Linked DNA regions of Homo sapiens: all the other regions are linked to region 4. The links are contacts of gene promoters, found by promoter capture Hi-C in human tissues and cell types (Jung and others, 2019). All regions are on one chromosome and are shown on one strand. Each heading gives the region's core, a stretch centred on a gene start or on the middle of the fragment in contact. The rest is flanking DNA. Distances are from core to core; before and after follow the strand shown. Region 1 overlaps ANKRD29 (ankyrin repeat domain 29). Region 2 overlaps RIOK3 (RIO kinase 3). Region 3 overlaps RBBP8-AS1 (RBBP8 antisense RNA 1). Region 4 holds the start of CABLES1 (Cdk5 and Abl enzyme substrate 1).

Evidence for each region. The method cuts DNA at HindIII sites, captures the fragments that hold promoters and counts their contacts. A contact is called where the count stands out against the background at its distance.
Region 1: a contact is called between a fragment that was not itself captured here and the fragment with the promoter of CABLES1 in region 4, in 2 of the 25 tissues and cell types used here (hippocampus and lymphoblastoid cells).
Region 2: a contact is called between a fragment that was not itself captured here and the fragment with the promoter of CABLES1 in region 4, in 1 of the 25 tissues and cell types used here (aorta).
Region 3: a contact is called between a fragment that was not itself captured here and the fragment with the promoter of CABLES1 in region 4, in 4 of the 25 tissues and cell types used here (H1 embryonic stem cells, IMR-90 fibroblasts, bladder and 1 more).

The regions. Positions count from the first base shown.
Region 1 is chr18:23,616,029-23,618,922 of GRCh38, reverse strand. It overlaps ANKRD29 (ankyrin repeat domain 29), which reads left to right. Exons shown (of 10, transcript NM_173505.4): 8 at 1,096-1,191. Among named protein-coding and RNA genes, the nearest start is that of NPC1, 31 kb to the right of the region's middle. The HindIII fragment of the contact is 7,344 bases long and covers 1-2,894 here.
Region 2 is chr18:23,467,618-23,470,496 of GRCh38, reverse strand. The region is part of intron 7 of RIOK3 (RIO kinase 3); the gene reads right to left. Among named protein-coding and RNA genes, the nearest start is that of RIOK3, 16 kb to the right of the region's middle. The HindIII fragment of the contact is 5,305 bases long and covers 1-2,879 here.
Region 3 is chr18:22,838,997-22,841,696 of GRCh38, reverse strand. All of the region lies in intron 2 of RBBP8-AS1 (RBBP8 antisense RNA 1), which reads left to right. Among named protein-coding and RNA genes, the nearest start is that of RBBP8, 93 kb to the left of the region's middle. The HindIII fragment of the contact is 7,194 bases long and covers 1-2,700 here.
Region 4 is chr18:23,134,087-23,136,786 of GRCh38, reverse strand. CABLES1 (Cdk5 and Abl enzyme substrate 1) reads right to left here and starts at 1,302. Exons shown (of 10, transcript NM_001100619.3): 1 at 180-1,302. The coding sequence starts at 1,024. RefSeq lists silencers at 434-683, 784-993, 1,124-1,333, 1,454-1,533, 2,294-2,403 and 2 more and an enhancer at 1,954-2,103. The HindIII fragment of the contact is 17,284 bases long and covers 1-2,700 here.

The DNA.
Region 1 (2,894 bases), core at 17-2,516, 480 kb before region 4:
AGGGAAATCACCAGACGCGTTCGCCACCATTTCACTGCCCTCTCTCTCACTCTTCTTCTTCCCACAATCTCTGAAGCCAGAAAAGACCCCCACCCCCCGCCCCCCAATTCATTCTTCCTTCTTTCTGATTACAGATAAACCCTAATGGCAGGCCGAAGTGGTTTCTTGGCTACGGGAGAATTATGGACTAAATCCTCCAAACACAGCGACTGATATGTGAAAATGGGAGAAAAAGGAATTTGGAAACTGTGTTCTTGAGCCAAAAAATAACGACAGAAGCTAAATATTAATTTTTGAATTTGGCTTTTCATTCTTTTTAGCAGATTTTATTTTATTTTTTTCTGAGACAGAGTCTCACTCTGTCACCCAGGCTGGAGTGCAGTGGCACGGTCTCAGCTCACTGTAACTTCCGCCTCTGGGTTCAAGTGATTCTCGTGCCTCAGCCTCCCGAGTAGCTGGGACTACAGGCACGGGCTACCACACCCGGCTATTGTATTTTTGGTAGAGACGGGGTTTCAAGTGACCCTCCTGCCTTGGCCTTCCAAAGTGCTAGAATTACAGGCGTGAGCCACTGCACCTGGCCTTTTAGCAGATTTTAATCTATCACCTCTGCCCCTAAGCCCCACTACCCACACACGGGCGGATGCCTAGAGCAGACTAGGGCAAGGCTGTATAAATTTTTTTAGAAACAGTAAATACAGCTCAACAATGATCTAAATTATTAAAGACAGTTAACCATTTCTGCTAAGTTATGAACAGCCGAGAATGCCTCTTTGGTCCAACCATGGCCTAAAAATATGCTCTTGAAATTCCCCTTGTCCCCTGCCCAGTGTTCTCAGGAACTGTAGAAGTATGAATTCCCAAATGGCAGAGTTCTAACATAATCTAAGTCACTGTTTATCTGATACTCTTTCATGCAGAATTTACTGCTTAATATTCTCTAAAATGCTCCTAGATTAAGAGACATTGCTGATCTGTGCTTAATTTACACGTCATTAGTTTCTGACAACGGTACTTTCCAGTTCCCAACTGACTGCTTTCAAGCAACACAGATATATGTTAATAATCAACTTTTATTTTCCTCTTTCTGTTAAGGATGGCACAACAGCATTATTGAAAGCAGCCAACAAAGGGTATAATGATGTCATAAAAGAGTTGCTTAAATTCTCACCCACTCTTGGTATTTTGAAGGTAAGACCTAAAGATAAATTTTACTAATCTGTAAGAGAGAGGTTAGAAAGTAAGTCCTCACTTGGGGACTGTGTCGAATTTGGGTGCAGTTAGCCTGGTTAGTTGGATTCTTGAAAGAACACACCTGCAGCTTCTTGATGCTGGAGATCCCAGGGGCTCTGGTAGAAGTGGGGAGGTGGTAGAAAGAGTGAACCACAGTCTGTCATTACCTAGTTTTGCAGAAAAAAAAAAATCGACAGTAGTAATGAAATAGCTAATTGGAAAGTATGCCATTTTGACACCATTTGGAGGATTTGTGAAATCAAGGAAGAAGAACAGACACTTATGTCTGTTCTCTTCATTTTCTTAAGCAAAGAACCACTCTGTTTTGTTCCCTTAAGTGAAATAAAATAAGCCTCAAACACCTGGAAGCCTCAGAAAATATGTCAGTATGGATACCTGGGTCACCTAAAAAACAGAGCCAAAACTCTTTTTTTAAGTTTTGATCTTTTTGTTTTGTTTTGTTTTGCTTTTTTGAGATGGAGTCTCCCTTTGTAGCCCAGACTGGAGTGCAATGGCACGATCTCGGCTCACTGCAACCTCTGCCTCCCAGGTTCAAGTGATTCTCCTGTCTCAGCCTCCCAAGTAGGTGGGATTACAGGCACGCTGCCACCACACCCAGCTTTTTGTATTTTTAGTAGAGACGGGGTTTCACCATATTGGCCAGGCTGGTCTTGAACTCCTGACCTCAAGTGATCCACTTGCCTCAGCCTCCCAAAGTGCTGGGATTACTGGCATGAGCCACCCTATCTGGCCTAAATTTTGATCATTTTTGATTAAAATATTTCTAACCTATATTATATATCAGGAGTCAGCAAACTTTTTCTGTAAAGTCTTAATAAATATTAGTATTTCTGTTTACTAATATAATTATATTATTGATTATATTAATTTTATTATATTATATTATTTATTATATTAATAGTAATGCTTACTAACATTTTAGTAAATATTACTAAATAGTAAATAGTAATAAATATTACTAATTACTAATATATTTACTACAGTAAAGATATATTTATTAATATATAAATATTACTATAGGAAATATATACTACAGAATGTATTTACTATACACTATATATATAGTATATATAGTATATATATATATATACTGTATATATAGTGTATATATATATATACTATATATATATAGTATAAATTTACATTTTTTCAGAGACAGGGTTTCACTCTGTTGCCCAAGCTTGAGTACAGTGATGCAATCATAGCTCACAGTAATCTTGAATTCTTGCGCTCAAGTAATCCTCCTGCCTCGGCTGGGACTACAGCCACACACCACTGCACCCATCTAATTTTTAAATTTGTTGTAGAGATAGGGTCTCACTATATTGTCCAAGCTGGTCTCAAACTCCCAGCCTTAAGCAATCCTCCTGCCTTGACCAGGAGGCATATTAGTATATGGCATATATTTACTATATATAGTAAATTATATACTGTAAATACATACTATATAATATATAGTACATATAGTATGGATGTATTATATACATACAGTATGTATAGAGTATACATACATACAGTATGTGTAGAGTATACATACATACATACGGTATGTGTAGAGTATGCATACATACATACGGTATGTGTAGAGTATGCATACATACATACGGTATGTGTAGAGTATGCATACATACATACGGTAT
Region 2 (2,879 bases), core at 364-2,863, 330 kb before region 4:
ATAAGTATCCACAAGCATCTATAAACATCTCTGTAATTTTCTGTATGACTTAAAAAATTTAAATAGATGATATACTGTATATATATTCTGCAACTAGCTTTTTATACTCAACATTGGATTTTTTTTTTTTTTGAGACGGAATCTTGCTCTGTCACCCAGGCTGGAGTGCAGTGGCGCGATCTCAGCTCACTGCAAGCTCCGCTCCCAGGTTCACGCCATTCTCCTGCCTCAGCCTCCCAAGTAGCTGGGAGTACAGATGCCCGCCACCATGCCCGGCTAACTTTTTTGTATTTTTTAGTAGAGACGGAGTTTCACCGTGTTAACCAGGATCGTCTCGATCTCCTGACCTCGTGATCCGCCCCCATCGGTCCTCCAACGGATTTCTTTTTTTAACCTATTTTTAAAATCCAGATTGAGATCCAACTTCATTATGATATCTTCCCTGAATGTGCCTGGCAATGATCTTGTTCTATTCGCTATTCCTATCCCATATAAGGTCTCGTTTGCATAACTGGGTACTCTATTATGTAATTATCTTTCATTGACCATAATGGTTCTTACTGTAATGTTCTCCTTTTAGCTAAAGCTTAAGCTCTTTGAGAGTAAAAAATATGTCTTATATTTTATTCCCTGAGTAATCTAGCACAAATTACTGTTTGAATAATTGTTGATTGCCTGACCAACCTGAGAGTGACAGAAACCAGAGCTTTGACCCAGGCACAGTGGCCCACGCCTGTAATCCCAGCACTTTGGGAGGCTGAGGCAGTTGGATCACAAGGTCAGGAATTTGAGACCAGCCTGGCCAAAATGGTGAAACCCCGTCTCTACTAAAAATACAAAAATTAGCCGGGCATGGTAGTGTGTACCTGTAATCCCCGCTACCGGGGAGGCTGAGGCAGGAGAATCACTTGAACTTGGGAGGTAGAGGATGCAGTGAGCCAAGATTGCGCCATTGCACTCCAGCCTGGGTGACAGAGCAAGACTCCATCTCAAAAAAAAAAAGAAAGAAGGAAAGAAAAAGAAAGAAAGAAAGAAAAAGAGAGAGAGAGAGAGGAGAGAGGAGAGGGAGAGAGAGAGAGAGAGAGGAGAGAGGGGAGAGAGGAGAGAGGGGAGGGAGGGGAGGGAGGGAGGGAGGGAGGGAGAGAGGGGGAGAGAGGGGGAGAGAGAGAGAGAGAGAGAGAGAGAGAGAGAGGAAGAAAGAAAGGAACCAGAGCTTTGTGGAAAGCAAAACTCCCAGCCCCCTTGGTGTGCACACCCCTGTATAATACCTCCTTCCCTTGAGCATGTGTGGGATAGCCACTCCCTGGTTAGGTTATGTGGCAAAGGTGATGGTCTAGTCATTCCCATGATAACATAACACTAAGTCTCAGTCTTAGCAGACTGGAGAGATTCTCCTGCTGGCTTTGAAAGTGTGAGAGCTAGTGTGTGAAGAGGCCTGTGAGACGGCCCCATGGCAAGGAACTGCAGGGGCCTCAAGGAGTTGAGAGCAGCCCACTGCTGACAGCCAACAAGAAAGTGGGACCTCAGTCGTATAGCTGCAACTGAAAGGTGGCCAAGGGAAGAGGACGCCAAGCTCCAGAAAGGAACACAGCCTGGCCAACACCTAGACTGCAGGCTTGTGAAACCCTGAACAGAGAACCTAGTTAAGCCATGCCTGGATTCTGTCAACAGAAACTATGAGATAATAAATGGATGCTGTTTTGGCTGCTAAGTCTGTGGCAATTTATTATGTACCACAGAAAACTAACAAACTTTTAAAAGCATTAACTTTTAGCTGTAGAAAACTGAATGTTCTCTAGTTTTGCTAACTTAGAAATGTCAAAGTACAGATTATGATACCAATTCCACCAGAAAGACTGAACATTTATTATATTAGAGTATATTAAGTATACCAGGCCAGGCGCAGTGGCTCACGCCTGTAATCTTGGCACTTTGGGAGGCCAAGATGGGTGGATCACCTGATGTCAGGAGTTTGAGACCAGCCTGGCTAACATGGTGAAAGCCCATCTCTACTAAAAACACACAAATTAGCCAGGCGTGGTGGTGCGTGCCTGTAATCCCAGCTACTTGGGAGGCTGAGACAGGAGAATCGCTTGAACTCAGGAGATGGAGGTTGCAGTGAGCTGAGATTGCGCCATTGTACTCCACCCTGGGCAACAAGAGCAAAACTCCATCTCCCAAAAAAAAAAAAAAAAAAAAAAAAGGAGTATATTGAGTATAACAGAAAATGGACAAAGGATAAACAAGAGAGAAGACAAGAAAAAGAAATACAAATGGCCAATAAAGCACTTGGAAAAAATGTACAACTTAATCATAATTAAATAAATGCACACCAAAATACCAAGATGTTACTTTTCATCTCTCACACTGACAAAAAGCATTAGATTTGATAATACTAAACACTGATAAAGATGAGGAAGCCCGGAAGCAGTGGCTCACGCCTGTAATCCCAGCACTTTGGGAGGCCAAGGCGAGTGGATCACCTAAGGTCAGGAGTTTGAGGACAGCCTAGCCAACATGGCGAAACCCTGTCTCTACTAAAAATACAAAAATTAGCCAGGCGTGGTGGCATGTGCCTGTAATCCCAGCTACTCTGGAGGCTGGGATAGGAGACCTTGCTTGAACCCGGGAGGCAGAGATTGCAGTGAGCCAAGATCACGCCACTGCACTCCAGCCTGGGGAACAAGAGTGAAACTCCATCTCAAAAAATAATAATAATAATAATAATAATATACGCATTGAAAAAAACTGGAGAAGTCTACCCAAAATTATTAATGATTATCTCTGGGTGGTGGTATTAGGATGACTGTGTTTTTTATACATTCCTATACTGCCTAGACTTTCTACAATAACACTTTAAAAATTACTCTGCTTGCCAT
Region 3 (2,700 bases), core at 191-2,690, 300 kb after region 4:
CATAACCAGTATCTTGAGGAGGCATCCATCTAGATGTTCTCATCTCATTTTTCTGGATCCTAGTTTTTCCCAAGTAGGGCCCTGACCTTACCATAGTAGACCTACCTTGGTGGATCATTCAGACGTCTTTGGAGCTCTGCATGCACCACCCCACCCAGCAATTTTGTATTTTTAGTACAGACAGGGTTTCACCGTGTTGATCAGGCTGGTCTAGAACTCCTGACCTCAGATGATCCACCCGCCTCGGCCTCCCAAAGTGCTGGGATTACAGGTGTGAGCCAGCACACCTGTTGTTTTTTCAAATGCCTGAATGATTGGAACTGAATGATTGTTCCCTTCCACCGGGACATTTTCTCAGGTCATTGTGGGTGAAATCTTGAGCAGTTGGGCCCCTACCTTGGGCCAGGGACTATCTGTACCCTACCTACCACACAAGATGGCCCCCACTTAATCTAATGTTGGGTGAGTGAGCCAATCCCAAATCCCCATCTTCCTGCCTGTTTTCTCACACCACTCTGTGTACCACCTGTTTTGATTTGGACCCATTCCAAATAAATCTCAAGCTAGGATTAGATATGAAAGAGATTACTGAAGGAGGGAGCAGGAGGAGGTGGAGAGAAACTTCAGAACCACAGTGTAGCAAAGAAGAAGGAAAGTAGCAGGATTGGGTAGGATGGGTCTCAGACTGCCATGTAGTGCTAAGAAAGTTTGGCCAGGTCGATGGTGAGTCCTAAAATAGAAGTTACTCAGGAGTCCTGTATATTGCCAGAATGGGCCTGCCTTAGTATCTGCTGTGCTCTATCATTGGCTAGGAAGTATGGCCTTCGGGTAGATGCAGTGCTGCATCCAGAGGGACAGGATCAATTAAGCTGTCTCCAACAGGAGGTCTGAGAGGAGCATTTTCATGACTACAACACACAGCAACCCAGCTGCTAATGATTATAGGCTTCGTGGGTTAGACATATTTGTGTTTTACAGTTGAAAACAGCTGAGAGGAAATAGGCTTAGTAGGTACTTCTGGAACTTCATTTAGATAAACACTTTGCATTTTTAATTTTAAAGAATGTTAGACATATTTGTGTTTTACAGTTGAAAACAGCTGAGAGGAAATAGGCTCAGTAGGTACTTCTGGATCTTCATTTCGATAAACACTTTCCATTTTTAATTTTAAAGAATAAGGCAAACTAAATACATCTGAACAGTTTACATCATAGTTAAGTGGAATAACAAGTCTGGCACAGGTTAGATAATTCAGACCACAAATTCCCATTCTCTCTGGTTCCACAGTGGCTTTTTGGATCTGTGAAATATAGAGGTGTCATTTTGTGGACAGGTGTGCCTTGGCATAACAATGCTTTAGCTCATACAGATGATCACACACTACCAATATCATTGAGTAATTTTGGATTGAGTGGTCGGTCTGAGGTAGATTCACGCTCCCTGGTCTGTAGTGCAGTGTGATTGCTTCATGACACCTGCATTATACAAGTGTTTTTATCTTCTGAGTAGCTATTTGCCTTGCGTTTCCTCATGCCTATATTTATTTCTCTCTTTTTACATCTCAGGGGTGTTAGAATGTAAATTCCCAGACAATACATAAAAACCCGATAATTTATCAATGAGACTGATAATAATGATGCTATTTGACATTTGGCAACATAGGGGGTTTTCTTGGCTCACGTTGGGTATCTTGAACCTATGCCCTATTAGGTAACTTTCTTAAACTGCCTGGAGTATATGCTTTTTTCTCTGTTATCTCAATGAATCATTCTTCTAATGTCTCTTCAAGTTTATTTCCTCTGTTGGTATCTCTCTTTTGTCCCTCATTTGGCATTTTGGGGGTAATGATAAATGTTGGGTGGAAAAAATAAGAAAGGTGGAGCAAAGCTTTGCATATGCTCATTGCATTTTTGGAGCCCGTTTACTCTTATTGTATCATCAGGAAAAATTCCTAGGATGCTTGTATGGCTAAGGTAAGTCAGATAACTTGATACCTATTCATCTCCAAAGGTATCTTGGATTTATAATGGAGATAAGGCAGAGAAAGGAGAGATTACGTTAGTGACCCCTGTTCAGGGCTGTGGGAGTTCCCTGAGTCTAATGAACAGCTATATCATCTTAAGATCAAAACAGAAACTATAGGCTTAAAGGTCAGCAGTCAGGATATGCAGGAGTCTGTAAGCTGGTAAGCACTACTAAGCTTGAGTTTTCAAGCTGTACTCAACAGGGATATAGAATATTTATAGTTTTTTGAAGCTTATTTATCTTTTGTGACATACTTAAGACCTTCCTGTGATCTGACAGTGTATCATAAAGCATTTTAATGCATTTTCTTCTCAATTTATTTTTATTGGTAATTCAAATTGTGTAAGCAAGGAGGTATATTGAAAAAAAACAGTTCTAAAGAGATTGAGAAGACTGCCTTAAAGATTTAATCACCTTAGTTTTCTAGGAGGGTTCTGGCTGTCAGACGGTTTCATCTCATGAGCCTCTCTGCCTACAATTACGTTTCCTTTCTGTAACTGAAATGCAGGTTCAGTCAATCTCTGCTTTCAGAGTCTGATTAACAAGAGCGAGATCTAGTATAAAGAAAGTGATTTTTTATTCTGAAACTAGCTTAGGGGAAGAAGTACAGGCTTCCTGCCTTAAGGGTGTGGCTTCGCTTTTGGAGCAGAAAGTGAGTGCTTTTAAAGGGGAGCT
Region 4 (2,700 bases), core at 53-2,552:
CTGGGGACGCCCCCTCTTTTGGGTGCCCTCGTGGTTTGGGATTCGGGCCCGGAGCACAGGATCCGGCAGGGCGCGGGAAAATGGGAGCAACCCGTGTCCCGTAGCCCAGAGACCGCGGGGAGGCTGGGAGCGCCGGGCGGGACGCAGGGTTGGGTGCGCGTCGCATCCCGGATACTCACCGGGACCTCTGCAGCTGCTCGAAGGCGCTGGTGCTGCCGCCCTGGCCTGGCTGCTCCAGGGAGCAGTAGTTCTGCGAAGTCGGCCTGGAGAAGGCGATGGGCAGGATTCCCTGAGTGAACGAGTTGAGGCGTCCCCGACTGCCGCTCCCACTCCCGGGGGTCCCGGAGCCCAAAAAGGCGGCCGCCGGCACCTGCACGCTGATAAAGGCATCGTCCTCCTCCAACTCCTCCTGCCCGGCGGCCCCGGACCCGTCGAGCAGCTGCAGTTGGGCACAGGCGGCGAGAGGCGCCGGCCGGGGCGGCTGCCACTGCTCCCCCGACGCCCGGCCGGCGCCCAGGGGACTCGCGAACCCCCGCGCCACCCCGGGGCCGGACACGGTCGCATGGCCGCCAGGAATCAAGGGCGGCAGCGACGAGGGCTGTGGGAGGCAGGGGCCGGACCCAGCGGCTAACCCCGCAGCCGGCGTGCCCGGCGCGGCGAGCGCGATGCAGCCGCCCCGCTCGGCAGCGGCGAGCAAGCTGAACCGAGTCCTCGCGCCGCAGGCGCCGCCGGCGCCCGGCTTGGCCGCGCCGCCCTCCTCGCCACCGCCCCACTCCGCGTCCTGCGGCGGCAGCCGGCCGTCCAGCGAGATGTTGGTGAGGAAGGAGAGGGCAGCCTGGCGGCGCCGCGGGTCCATGCGCGGCTTCCGGGGGGGTTCGGGCGGCGGCTGGGCCGGCGCGGCGGCCGCGGGCTGAGGCTGGGGCTGCGGCGGCGGCTGCTGCAATCCGCTGGCGCCCGCGGCGTCGGTGCCGGCGCTGCCGCTGCTGCAGGCGGCCGTGGTGGCGGCCGCCGCCGCCGCCGCCATTGTGTCCGTCTGCGGCGGGATTTCCGCGATGCCCGGAGAAGCGAGCGGCGCCCGAGCGCTAAGCGGCGGGCGCGAGCGGCGGCGACCCGGGCTGGGTAGGGCGCGGGGATCGGGCGGCGTGCGCGGCGGTCCAGCCCCCCCGCGGGCGGGCCATGCTCGCCCCTCGGTGCTGGGGATGGGGGCGCCGCCGCCCCGGCCCACGCGCACGCCTCGCTACCTAGCTCGGCTAGTTCGGCTCGCTGGCTGGCCGCCCGCCGGTCGCCTGGCCGCTGGCTCGCGGGCTCCGGGGCCGGGTGTCCGTATTTATAGGTGCGCGCGCCCCGCGCTCGCGCTCCAAAGCCCTCTTTGCAATAACACGGAATCACGTGTGGGGAATGCGACCTGGGAGGAAAACAAAGCCGCAGGCGGCGGCCGCAGAGGCAGACGGCGGGAGGCAAGGGGCCACGGGAGGAGGAAGAGGAGGACGCGAGAGCCGAGCGGGTGGTGGGGCGGGGGATCGGCCCGGCTGTCCGGGTTGTCGGAGCTGCCTGCTGGGAGAGTTGGCGACTCCCGGGGCCGCGGAAGCCAGGTGCGGGAGGCGAGCACGTTTCCCCCGCGCGCTCGCACTGGGAATTGGGTGAGCGAGCAGAACCCGGTGGGTTAGGTCCTGGGGCTGTGCTCCTGGGAGAGTTGTGGGTCTACAGGACGGTTATGTGGAGCGTTGCAGAGTTTTGGACTGCGAGCGAGTTACTTGGACCCCGCAAGGCCGTTGGTCCCCGAGAAGTAAATAGATCCTTTTCATAATAACACGGGTAAGTCCACAGCCCCTATGGAGACTGTCCCACCGTAAAGCTATCGCTAACAACCATTGCAGTTGGGTCTATTCATTCCCAGGCCAAGGATGCAGCCCCCGGGATAAATGCACGCCTTGGGATGCATAAGAGCCCAGAAGCACGAACATCTTACATGTGGCCAACGAACTCACGCATCCCCAATCCATGGTATTGTCACTTTTCATCTCTCTCTTAGCAAAGGACAACGCAAATTTTTTACTTTGGCTCTGAAATGTGCTCCATTTTCTGTGAAGACCCAGGTGGGCTAAAATGACCTTACACTCTTTTCCCCTGGTCACCTTGCAAATTTTTGTAGATTATGATCTCTTCTCCCTCATAAACTGGGACCAATGTGGACAGTTACCCTGTCGTTTATCTCATAAGCACGTTTGGCACCTACCATGTCTTCTATAAATACGGGTTCCTGACGGCCCTCCCAGAGCAGTAGCTCTGAATCTGGGAGGAGTCGCAGTCCCCACCCACAACGAATGCTTGTTTTGGTTGGGGGTGGGGGCGGGGGCGGGGACAGGGTGGAGGAGTTCACCTGGAGGGATCTGAAAACGTGTGCGGGTTTCCCCAGGCGGTATGGGCAACTTAACAAATGCAGTAAGGAACAATTGCCACACTGAATTAAGCTCTGTGACACCTAAGAAACCTGCTGCACTTTTGAGGGAGAAGCAATGTGTTTCAGATCAACGGATTAATTTAATTAAAGGTTTAAATTTAGCCCTGGAGCTAATGGGTAACTCTACATTGAAATTCCACTCCATTTCAAGTTCAGGAAAGTAAATTGAGTAATGGAGAGCAAATACACCGTCCAGAGAGGTGCCGCCAACCCGGAGTGCCAGACAGAGAGGGTTTCAG